Regions from separate parts of the Homo sapiens genome. Here region 1 is linked to region 2. Evidence: promoter capture Hi-C in 16 types of primary human blood cells and fetal thymus (Javierre and others, 2016). All regions are on one chromosome and are shown on one strand. The core of a region is centred on a gene start or on the middle of the fragment in contact, and the rest is flanking DNA. Distances in the headings are between cores, read along the strand shown. Region 1 overlaps SLC44A3 (solute carrier family 44 member 3). Region 2 holds the start of TLCD4 (TLC domain containing 4).

What was found. Contacts are between HindIII fragments. The CHiCAGO score rates a contact against its expected background, and 5 or more counts as called.
Region 1: a fragment that was not itself captured here is called in contact with the fragment with the promoter of TLCD4 in region 2 in 1 of 17 cell types (activated CD4 T cells); the score reaches 5.9 in activated CD4 T cells.

Annotation. Positions count from the first base shown.
Region 1 is chr1:94,830,000-94,836,427 of GRCh38, forward strand. The region is part of intron 5 of SLC44A3 (solute carrier family 44 member 3); the gene reads left to right. Among named protein-coding and RNA genes, the nearest start is that of SLC44A3, 13 kb to the left of the region's middle. The HindIII fragment of the contact is 5,243 bases long and covers 837-6,079 here.
Region 2 is chr1:95,114,069-95,120,286 of GRCh38, forward strand. TLCD4 (TLC domain containing 4) reads left to right here and starts at 3,287. Exons shown (of 7, transcript NM_152487.3): 1 at 3,287-3,549. TLCD4-RWDD3 (TLCD4-RWDD3 readthrough) reads left to right here and starts at 3,855. Exons shown (of 8, transcript NM_001199691.1): 1 at 3,855-4,023. RefSeq lists a cis regulatory region at 1,512-2,039 and silencers at 3,294-3,440, 3,368-3,647, 3,728-3,777. The HindIII fragment of the contact is 12,433 bases long and covers 1-6,218 here.

The sequences.
Region 1 (6,428 bases), core at 2,208-4,707, 280 kb before region 2:
TTCATAGTCTTATAACTGGTTGCAAGTGAAGCTTGAAAAATGCTGAACTAGCAGGTGCTCACAAACACAAAGAGACTTGAGAAGGTTTAAATCACATCGGAGGCAGAAAATAGCCATTTTGTGATATTCTTTTCTAAAATAAATACTCCATGTTGTAAGTAATTGAAGGAGGAGAGAACTATTTGCTGAGGAGAATACCCATTTCATTTTTCTATAATATTCTTTTTTTTGAGACAGAGTCTTGCTCTTGTCACCCAGGCTGGAGTGCAGTGGTGCGATCTCAGCTCACTGCAACCTCCATCTCCCAGGTTCAAGCAATTCTCCTGCCTCAGCCTCCCAAGTAGCTGGGACCACAGGCGCATGCCACCATACCCAGCTAATGTTTTTATTTTTAGTAGAGATGGGGTTTCTCCATGTTGGCCAGGATGGTCTTGATCTCGTGACCTCGTGATCCGCCTGCCTCGGCCTCCCAAAGTGCTGGGATTACAGGCATGATCCACCACGCCTGGCCTATAATATCTTATTTTTAAAATTCTGGTAATTGTAAATGTGTTTATGATATTTTACATTCTGGTAAAATGTAAGGTATCATAAACACATCTTAATGAAACATACTGAACCCAATTTAAAAAAAAACTAGAATGTTTTAGTAATAGGTGGAAGGAAAATTCTCTAGCACTTGGAGAGGAGGACTTTTTTAAGAACACAATTTGTAACTGTAGATGTAACTACGGATGGAATTGAAAGAGAATGGAATTTTTAAGGTTGTAATTTAACCAGAGTTGGATAAACTCTCTTCTTACTATAAATGGGATGGCAACCATAATTCCACAGGAAGCTTATATCTTGATACTTATGATGATAATGGCAAACATTTATTGAGCTTTTGATACTTTTCTAAACCCTTAACATAATTTGGGCCTCAGAAAACGTCTATATTGTAGGTATTGTTTTCATCCCTATCTTACAACTGAGAAAACTGATGCAGAGAGGTTTAAGTTCATACATCCAGCAAATGGAAAAGCTGGCATTCAAACCCAAGCAGCGTCTATGTTTGAGTCAAGACTTGATTTTATTTTGACTGGTGAGTGGCCTTCCTAGACTCACATCAAGCTGGGAGAAAGAGTCTCCGTATCCTGTGTCATAATAGCACCATTTCTTCTCACTCTCAAGCCAGCCCTAGTCCTTTTCACCCTAAATGCAAATGTTTCCAATACTAACTTTTCAAGTAAAGACAAAACCCTTGACTGAGTGGCCTTTTTTGGACAGAAAGAGAGAGAGAAATAGCCTCAAGGGCTCCATTCCCTTTTCCTGCACAAGCAAGTGTTTGTTTAAGGTGAAAATGATCATATTTATCATGGAATAGCAGTGCCAAGACTGAAAAGCTGGAAAACATGAGAAGGGTGGCTATAGGGCCAAAGAACATTTTCTAAATACCTCTTTTTGACTAAACTGATTGTTTCTTCCTCGTCTGTCGGTCATGTGAGGTATAACGTACCCTTTTCGAGTAATGGCTAAATATCAAGGAATTTGTGGACCTAGGTATGAGCTTTTAAGAGCAGTGAAAAAGCACTACAGAAGATAACAAGCAAATAGATCTTTTTTCACTTTGGTGTTCAACATGGTAATGTATTTTGAGTCCCTCATGTATTCAAAATCTAAAAGGCGTGGATATTTTCCCCCCAGTAAATTCTAGTTCTACTCTCCCACATAGGTGCCTGTGCATGTCACTGCATGGTTTGCTCAGCTGAATTCCATATACCTGGTGATCTAAATATACAGGCAGCTTACCCAATGACTTCCTGCAAGTTTGAGTGGCTTTGCTAATGGGAAGAAGAAAAGCAGAAGTGGTGAAGAAACCTCAGGCCATGGCCTAAAGATGCATCCCTGTGAGCCGGGCATAGTGGCTCACATCTGTAATCCCAGCACTTTGGAAGGGCGAGGCGGGCAGATCACCTGAGGTCAGGACCAGCTTGGCCAACAATGGTGAAAGCCCGTCTCTACTAAAAATACAAAAATTAGCTGGGTGTGATGGCAGGCGCCTGTAATCCCAGCTACTTGGGGAGGCTGAGGCAGGAGAATAACTTGAACCTGGGAGGTGGAGGTTGCAGTGAGCCAAGACCACGCCATTGCACTCCAGCCTGGGTGACAAGAGCAAGACTCCATCTAAAAAAAAAGATGCATCCCTACCCCAGCTAATGAAATACTCTAAATCTCGAAAGGCGTAGCAGTTACATAGATGTGTATGTTTATCAAAGTCTCTAATTTTATGTTTAAGATCAGTGTATTTCATTGTATATAAATATTGCCTCAGTAAAAATAAGAGGAATTCCTTACATTCTGAAGTGTATTAAGTTAAAAAAAAAACAAATAATAGAACAGTGTGCAGTATACTTTTGCATAAAAAGTGGAAAATGTAAGTATAAACCTATAAATATATATATCTAGGTATATATTTGCTTGTATAACCATTATTACATCAAGCATGACTTACAGGATGTAGTCAGAAAGCAATTTAATTTTTGTCTTTCTCTGTCTCTTTAAATTTATTCAGTGGGACTAGTTTTTTCTGCCCCTGAATAAAAACACAGGCAATTCCCAAGGCTTCTCTGGTAACTTTTAGGTAATACATACTGAGTCACTTTAAGTTGCAACAGACACTTTCAATTCAATAATTAAAATGTTCAGCCCAGACCAGGCACAGTGGCTCATGCCTGCAATCCCAACATTTTGGGAGGCCAGGGCTGTAGGATTGCTTGAGGCCAGGAGTTCAAGACCAGCCTGGACAACATAACGAGACCATGTCTCTACAAAAATTTAAAAATTAGATTGGCATAGTGGAACATGCCTTTAGTCCTAGCTGAAGCTGAGATGGGAGGATCTCTTGAGCCCAGGGGTTTGAGGTTGTAGTGAGCTGTGATCATGCCACTGCACTCCAGCCTTGGTGACAGAGCAAGACCCTGTCTCAACTTTTTTTTTTTAAATTAAAAAATATTCAGCCCAATGTGATAAACTTCTCACTTGATCGGAGGTTCAAACTTCTGCCCCCTGCACGCTTGGCCCAGGAGCAAGTGGGAAGGCCATAGTCCAGGAAGGAGGCTGTAGTCAGCCTCCCTTCTCCTCTGTTTATTCCTGCCCTCCTCTCCCAGCTTGCTGAAACAGGTTTTGTCTAAGGGGCTGGTGCAGCAAAAGTGAAGGAAGAAAATAGTAGCAGGAACACATTTACTTGTCTGATACTAGCACCAGCATTCTCTGGGCTTGGGAGATGTCCCGGCCAGCTCTTTCCCTCATGGGCATGTTTTGGGTTCTTCGGGGCTCTTTCAGCTGCAGTGCCTTTCATGTAGTCTAATGCATCTGTGCTCTGGCTGGTCATGTGAGAGGCTTTCCTCAGTCCTGAGGCATTAATTAGCTACCTCAGAGAGCAGCCACCTCCAGCTCCTTCTGCCAAGGTCCCCACAGCCTTCTACAGGGCTGTCTTAGACACGATCGGTGGCACCCCATCACTGGGACTTGTGCACATGCAGCCCACAACTAGACCCCAGGAAGCCCTCTGCACCCTTTGCCCTGACAAATGCCCTGGGGGCTCTTAACTCCCCAGCTGTAGCTCTCTGCTCTGCTGTTAAAGCCGCTCACCCTCCAGATTTCTTGGGGTGGCTCAGACCTTAAGCCAGGGGATTCCCTAAGCTCTCTGAGTTTTCCATGAAACCCTTCTCATCTGACTTAGGAAAATGGGGATGGAGTCACATGACAAGTCTAGTAAAAAAAAAAAATTTCAACTCTTCAAAAATTACTCTTCTAATGATTCTCTGCACTTGTCATCACCTGTGCAGAGTAGATTTTACTATATGCAAATAAAAATTAAAATCAAGATGTCAGGATCTTAGGATAGTGTGTAGAGGGTGACAAATTAAATGACTAATAAGGAGCTGATGTGAGTAACTTTGGAAAACAGCTTTGTGACTAGATACTGTAAGCTAAAGACAAAAGGAACTGTATACAAACACTGTACTCCAGATAGTACATTTGTTTGTCACATAGCTACTGGTTAACAATTGTTTTTCTCATTTTTTAAAAATTCCCTAAACAATACAGTATAATGGTTAGCAATTCTGAAATTACATACTAGAATCGATTATAGGGCCTAGAATCAGTAATACCCCACCATACCCAATACCCAGATCATGGTTTCTAATCATTGGTCTTCAAGGGTTCTTTGGAGAAATGGCAGGTTCTAGGACTTGGATAAGGAAAATACCAGCTACGTCTGGTATCATCATCCTGTAGCATCAGAAAGTAAGGAAGTGCTCAAGAAAGAAAAAGAATGGGTCTTGTCAAAAGGACACAGATGACTCGTAGTGGCCAAAGCTGGAATAGATTGAATAACACAATTAAGATTATAACCCAAAGAAAAGAATAAATGTTGATGAGGCCATACTGATATGAATAAATAATTGAATAAATAAATAAATGGGGGGAAGGGATAAATCCTTTTTTTCTTTTTTTTTGAAACAGTCTTGCCCTGTTGCCCAGGCTGGAGTGTAGTGGCACGATCTCAGCTCACTGCAACCTGTGCCTCCCGGGTTCAAGCAATTCTCCTGCCTCAGCCTCCCGAGTAGCTGGGATTACAGGCACCCACCACGACACCTGGCTAGTTTTTGTATTTTTAATAGAGATGGGGTTTCACCACGTTGGCCAGGCTGGTCTCAAACTCCTGACCTCAAGTGATCCACTCGCCTCGGCCTCCCAAAGTGCTAGGATTACAGGCATGAGCCACTGCTCCCGGTGAAAGGGATAAATCTTTACTTCTTCCTCCAAGAGGTGGAATTTCCCTCCCTTTGAGAGTGGGCTAGGCTTAGTGACTCATTTCCAAGGATAGAGAGGGAAAAGAGAAAAATAACAACTTTACAAGGAGAAACCCGGCAGGTACCACCTTAACTAGGTGATCAAGGTCAACTTCACCAGTGTTGTCATGTTCCTCGATAGGATTCTATGAGAAAGGCACTTCACCTCTGTGGCACTGTCCCAAAAACCTGTTGACTGTAGCCTAATCATGAGAAAACATGAGAGAAATTCTACAAATTAAGGGACATTTTACAAAATACCTGACTATGAATCTTCAGAAATGTCAAGGTCACGAGAAACATGGAAAAACTAAGAAACTTGTCACAGGCCAGGCACAGTGGCTCACACCTGTAATCCCAACACTTTGAGAGGCAGAGGTGGGAGGATGGCTTGAGCTCAGGAGTTCAAGACCAGTTTGGGCAACATAGCAAGACTCTGTCTCTACAAAAAACATAAACTGTCATGACCAAAGAGGAGACGTGACAATAAAATGCCATGTGCTATCCTGAATTAGATCCTGGAATAGAAAAAGGATGTTACGGTGAAATCCAAATAAAGGCTGTAGTTTAGTTAGTAGTTTAGTGACAATGTTAAATCTTAATTTTCACAAATATACTGTGGTTATGTAAGACATTTACATTAGGGGAATGTGAGTGAAGGATACACAGAGGAACCCTCCACCATCGTTACAATTTTTTTGTAACTCTAAAATTATTCAGAAATTTAAAGTTTACTTTTAAAAATGCTCTGCTTATCAACTTCCAACTCTTTTATGCTCTCAGCATGGATGTGGGTTTAAGAATAATCTAACCACTTTTCTCCCACCTCTTTTTTGGCATGCCCTGAATGGTGGAGTCTGGCGTCTCATTTTGGAGTAGAATTTTTATTATCTTTGAGCTCAGCCGCAAATTCCATTTAAACTTCCTATGATATTTACATATGCTAATAAAAGTCTCTAGAATGGTTTGCAAGAAACCAAAAATCATGGGTGCCTGTGAGGAAATGTACTTCGGTAGCTCAAGGACAAGGAAAGGCAATTTCTTGCTGTTTGGTCTCTTGTACTTTTTGGAATTTAAGCCATGTGAATGTATTACCCCTTCAAAAATGTAATTACAAAAAACACCGTTTGTGTTACTCTTCTCTTGAACCACTATCCAGTGACTCAGGAACTGTTTCTGTAATATTGAGACTTCTGGAGAAAGATTCTTCCACGTGTTCTATGTTGTGCTTCATTAGAAGCTTGGGAAGTCATTTCTTTTCTTCAGGGCAATGAAATCTTTTAACATTTGGATTCTCCTTTGTTTCATTCTTATACATTGCACAAAATGATTGGTGATTGGGTTTTGAGCAGCTTTTTAGATAATTTGACACTTCTTTGGTTGGGATTATTTCCACCATTTGGGGTTCATGGAAAGAAAGAAGAACAGGACCCTGTGAAGGTATCAGTGGCCTCATGAAGATTCATTAGAATGCATATTGCTAGGCTTTTTTACATTTCAGGAAGAAGCTAAAAAAAGGTCAACTTTCTCATCTACCCAAGGCAGTTATCAACTGCAGCATCAATCACACATTTACTATCCATTTAT
Region 2 (6,218 bases), core at 2,037-4,536:
GTTTGTTTAGAGACAGGGTCTCACTCTGTTACCCAGGCTGGAGTGCAGTGGTGCAATATCAGCTCACTGCAGCCTCCAACTCCTGGTCTCAAGCAATCCTCCTGCCTCAGTCTCCCAAAGCACTTGGGATTACAGACATAAGCCAGTGTGCCTGGTGAAAGTATTTTTAAACACTTATAAAACTACAAACACTCTTAATACACTAAAACTACCAACACAGGAAAAAGTAGTGCTTGGGGTTATTCATTTTTTAGTAATTCAGCCTTTCTGATCAAAATGTTTGGCGTCATTTAGTTTGTATCTTCACTAACAGAGCAGAGTGGAGAATTAAGGCAACTTCTCAAAATATTTTTGCTTTAATTATAATTTTTAGAAAAAAAACAGCTTTTGGTCTTAGTTTTTCAAACAATTGGTTCTATTCAGAAGATTAAGAATTTTGGAAAATAAATTCATCAGGAAAACTTACTTCATTTAAAACAGTTTTTGGCTGGACATGGTAGCCTGTAATCCCAGCACTTTGGGAAGTCGAGGTGGGTGGATCACTTGAGGTCAGCAGTTCGGGACCGGCCTAGCCAACATGGTGAAACCCCGTCTCTATTAGAAATACAAAAATTAGCCAAGCATGGTGGTGCATGCCTGTGATCCCAGGTATTCGGGAGGCTGAAGCACGAGATCTGAAACTGGAAGGCGGAGGTTGCAGTGATCCGAGATGGCACCACTGCACTCCAGCCTGGGCAACAGAGCAAGACTCTGTCTCAAAGAAAAAAAAAAAAGAGTTTTTGTATTTGTTGCCCATTTCAAGTGTGGATAAATACTTTCATTTCTCTGATCTGTTTGCTTGAACTGTTTCAGTGAATAACAATATAAAAAGTGCAATTCGGTCTTTATACATCCCATTTAAAATGCAGAAAAACTTCATATGGTAAATACAGAATTCTGAGAAAGTATCCTTGGAAAGGGAATATTGGTGAAACAATTAATAATACAGATTTAATGAACTGGATATATATATATACACATTATATATATATATATATAATATATATGTTTGTTTTTGAGACAGAGTTTCGCTCTTATTGCCCAGGCTGGAGTGCTATGGTGTGAGCTCGGCTCACACAACCTCTGCCTCCCAGGTTCAAGCGATTTTCCTACCTCAGCCTCTCGAGTAGCTGAGATTATAGGCAAGCACCACCATGCCTGGCTAATTTTTTATATTTTTAGTAGAGACAGGGTTTCTCCATGTTGGTCAGGCTGGTCTCGAACTCTCAACCTCAGGTGATCTGCCCGCCTCAGCCTCCCAAAGTGCTGGGATTACAGGCGTGAGCCACTGCACCCAGCCATGAACTGGATATTTTTAAAGAGATTAAGCTACCCTGAATTTTTCAGGAAAAAATACAGTTGATGTATTCTTCTACCTCCTAAGGTCACTGAGTTTTAATTAGCTTAAAACTTGCAACATTCAACTACTATTTACTGAATTCCTCTCATAGCTCAGGCCTTGTCCTTGATATATTAACTTATATGTTCTGTACAATCTCAAAAACAATCTTGCAGTTTTCATGAGGCATTTGTAGAGGCCTAATATGAAGGAATATAGTGGGACATAGAGTATAGTGGATTTCTGTGGGTTTACCTGGCTTTGGTTACTGCTGTTGGTGTTAGAGAATTATGCATATCAAAGATAATGATGGTGCATTTATCAGGAAAGAACAGAGCTACTATCAGCCACCAGAGACTAGCATGGGAGAGTTTCTGTAGGAGGTAGTGTTGATACAGACTCTTGAGAGGACACTGTGAAATTGGTATTTTCTGGGCTGACTTCACAGATGTTCACATATAACCATCCTGCCCACAGAGAGTTATGAAATAGCTATGTGAGTGCACAAGGTAGCTATTGCGCAAACCAAAGTTGTCAGGTACTGCACATATTGTGAAGGGACTATGATGGGACACCGTGTGGTTCAAAGAGCACTGGAGCCCTGGTACATCCTGAGAGTCTTGGGGAGAAAAAGGGGAACACGCATTTGGGGGCCTGAAAGATCTTTCTCTCTGCTTGACTGCAGGGCAGGTTTCTGTCCCTCCCTGTTCTGTGGTATAGATTTTGTCTTTTCCACATCAGTCCAGGTCTTCAGAGTCACTATGAATTATTATTACCATTTTAAAGATGAAGAAATTGAGCCTCAGTGAGGTTCAGTTAGCTAAAGGCACACAACTCTAATAAACTGACAGAATTCCAGGTTCTGATTTAAATTCTATTGCCCTCTCTTGAAAATAAACATGGACAGCTTATATGAGCTTTTGTGTATATATTTTCTGGTCTAAATCTGCGGCAGATATGTGTGTCTTTCTGCGCATGTATATAGTAGATCAAATATGTTAGCTCTATTGACATTTCTTAGAAATAAATATCCTGTTATCAATGATAGTGTTTACAAATTATTTATTTAGAACTTACCTCTTTTCAAGAAAAGGCCTTGTGATTGCTCTCTGCGAATTATAATGCATGAGTATACCTCTTTGTTATTTTGTTTTGTTTCAGACAATTATCTCTGGTTGATGCAGATCACTTGGAGGCTTTTGGGGCTGTATATAACAGGTCAGAACATCTATTTAATGTCAAACTTTATCTACTAGGCAACTTGGAATTCTCAGCCAGCACCAAATATTCAAATCCAACTTCCACACCCCGACAACAGAGGGGTTCCGGGTGTAGGTGTAGTGCTGGTGCACCCATGAGGGTGTTTTTCAGGAATTCTGGAGGTGGTGCTGGAGAGAACACGCTTCTTCTACACGCGCCCCCTACCAGTTTGGTATGCACCTGCAGCCCCAAAGAAGAACTGGCGGGACTCGAGTGTGGCCGTGTCAGACGTGGCAAGAAAAACCAGCAGTTGCCTTTTCATCTCTTTTCTGATGATCTAACCATGAAGTCCCCAGTATTTGAGCATTTAAGGCAGAATGTAAATTCATAATTTAAGAAGATTTTTTGTTACGTGGCTAGCCCAGGTACTGACCGCTGCGGGGGCGGGCTCACACAGTTCCCCCGCTGGCAAGTTTTGTGACTTGCTTTGGAAAACCCGGGAATTGCACCCTCTGCCCTTGGCAAGGTGTGAGCTTCCAGGATCTCTCCGCTGCGACTTCGGGTGTTAGGGTTTTTGGGCTCTTTCCGGGACCCAAGTTCCAGGGCAAGAAGGTCTGCTCGGCGGCCCGCCTCGGGGCCCCGCCCACTTTGGCCAGGGTCGGAGCCGCCCGGAGCGGGAGCCGGAGCCCGAGCGGCCGCGGCCCCTTTAAGGAGCAGCTCTGCGGTAACCCGAGCCCGCAGTCCGGGCGGGCGCGACGGCCGCCGCGGTAGCTGGAGCCTCCGCGACTGCACCTCCAAGCGGCCCGGAACCCGCGGCTTCCCTGGCTCCCGTGAGCATCTCACCGGGCGGCACTGGCCAGCGCCAGCCCTCGGGCCGGCCCGGATGAGCAGACTCCTGTAGACACCCGCCGCCCTCTCCCGGCTCGGCGCAGCCGCCGCCCGCGCGCGACTCGCCCCGGGACCCGGCACAGGTGACGCCGTTTGGAGGGGGGGTTGGGGAGGAAGGCGGGCTTGCCTCGCCCCGCGGCTCCCCCGCGCCAGCCGCCAAGCGCAGCCCGCGGAGAGGGGTGCCGCGGCTTCCCGCCCCTGGCCTAGCGCGGCCGAGAGCTCCTGCGCCTGGAGGCTGGGTGGGCGTCCGGCGCGCGGGAGGCGGCCCGGGGCTCCCGGGCGGGCTCCGGCAGGTGTGTGCGGAAGGCTCAGCATCGTCCCCGCCCGGCGGGCCACGGCGTCGCTCCGGGAGCAAATGGTGTCCCGGGGCCCGCGGCCCCCGCGCCGCCCGGGCGCCCCGCATTCCTCTCGCGTTTCTCGGGCTGCACGATTCCGGCTGCCCTGTCTGCCTGGCGGTGCCTCTCGGGTCTGAGCTTAAAGCGGGTGGGTGCAAACCTTTGGGCATCCAGGGAGAGCTTTCTTGTTAGAGCCCACACACAATCGGGCGCATCAAGTGGGTAAGTCCCCCTCCCCCGCCGCCACCTTCTGAAACAAGTAGCTCTTATTTACCCTTGCAGTTCTCAAGTGGGTCCCATTTTTAGCCACTGAGTGCTGAAAAGTCTAGTGGGAAGGGACCAGGCGTAGAGTCGGAGGGAGAAATTGGTTTCTATTTCCATCTTTACCTCTGTAACCCCTAAGTGCCTCGGTTTACCCAGCCATGAAATGGGATTCGTAATGCCAGCAGTTTCCTACCCCTCCAAGACGGCAGAAAAACCTCTGTGAAAACACTTTGAGTCTAAATTCATTTAAGAGTCGCTGTTGCTGGTCTGTATATTTTTAATTGTACACACATTTGAGTGTTAATGTGGTGCACACTTTTATATGAAATTATGAAATTTACTTTAAAGACTGATCTTGGATAATGTTTAATCCAAATACCAGTTTGGAGAAGATGGAAGAGTTTGTGTGGACCCTAGGAATTGATGTGTGAAATAGGAAAAAAGATTTAATAAAATCTTTACGCAGTCATAAATGGAGTTGAGAAAAATTGACCTTGGATTGTGGTGTTTTAAGTGAGTTACTCCCGTGCCAGCGCATGGTGTCGATTGAAATGTAGCTTCATCTTTGTGTAGCCGATTAAGGTAATAAGTTAGAGAATCCCAGCTCCCTTTTAATTGTGCTATATATGAGGAATTTTTATCCTTGCTTATCTTTTCCTTAAATTGGGCGAAACGAAATTAGAAAAGTGTATTCCCGCCGTGTTAGAAAATATGAAAGAATGGGTGAAGAACCATGGATTTTAGTTTATTTGCCACGCCCCTCCTGTGCCATCTGATAACCCAGAGAATATTTTGAGGGTGCTTCTTTTTTTTTCTACGCCTGCAACTCCTTTTGTCCCATTACCTCCCTCTGGAGTTTGAATCTTTACTGTCCTCATCCTTGAGATGAATTTTATCTGTTTAGGCTGGATGCCTCTGACCCAGCTGCCCAATCAGTCATTATTTATTTACAGTATTAGATTTCCATTTATATTCATTTCACTCTAAGCCTTCTTTACCCTGGTGGAAAGAATAATGGGTCTTTGCTACTAATGCTTTATACTTGGAGGTGAACTAGGAATGGCATGCTCAAGGTGCTGAGACTAATGCAAACCCCAGGGAAGCTAGGTCTTCACTGGAGTCTTCTGAATAGGTCCTGGAGTACAGATGCAAGAGTTGGCCTGTCTTTTCCTTGATTTTCTGAAATCTCCACTGGGTAAATTCATCTGATTGCCAAGGGAAGTCTTATGAGCAGGGAGCTATCAGAAATCTGAGTGTTAGACTGATTAAGAGCCTTCCCTGCAAAAGACTGGGGAGAAAGAAGTAGTGGCTTTGTAGGTGTTGGAGAGTCCTCCCTGTAACCAGATAACTAGTAGGAAGTAAAGGATCCCTAGATTCCCAATTGAGAAATGGGAAAGGGGCTGGGTTTCAAAAGGGAAGTGGCACAGCTTCTAGGCAGGTTTGGGAATGTACCTGAGGTTTGATGGGCCCTTCTCCCTCTTTCTCTTTGAGAGTGTTTCTGGCTCCTCAGAGTCAAGCACAGCTGTCTTAACAGTTTTCAGACCTGTTTACTCTCCTCTTTGGTGCTCTAAAGGAGGCCCAGCGTTCATGTTCCTCTCTCAAAGCTGGTCTTGCATGTATTAGAGGAAAATGGGCAGTTTAGTTTGTAAGAAACTCTTTAGACCTCAGTGTCTCTCCCCACCCTTCTTTCCAAATTAGTCCCACATCCTACAGATTAAGGATTTGTTTGGGCTTCAATATCTCAAACTGGGATACTCAGTTTGGCTGAGAAGAGTAAACTGAACAGTCTACACTAAGATATGAAAAGCTAGCTTTTCTGTTAAGGAAGATAATGAATTAATTGTCTGGGTGAGAATTATGGGCATTTGGACAAAGGAGGGCCAGACTGGGGGTGGAGTTGTGCTGGACAACTTGTGCCCTCGTCCTTGAGAGAGGAAAGGATACCACCAAACTAGTGCAGTCACCCTGTTGTGCTTTTTCTTCTTCCATTTGCCTTGAGAGAAGAAGAAGATAGCAGTATGGAGGTGGAGTCACCATCTGTTCTCAAGGATGGGAAACAGACTTTAACTGAACATTAGGAATGAGCTGTATTCACCTGGCATTGGTATCAGGCGCTGGATGGATTACACCAGAGAATACATTACATTAGGAAA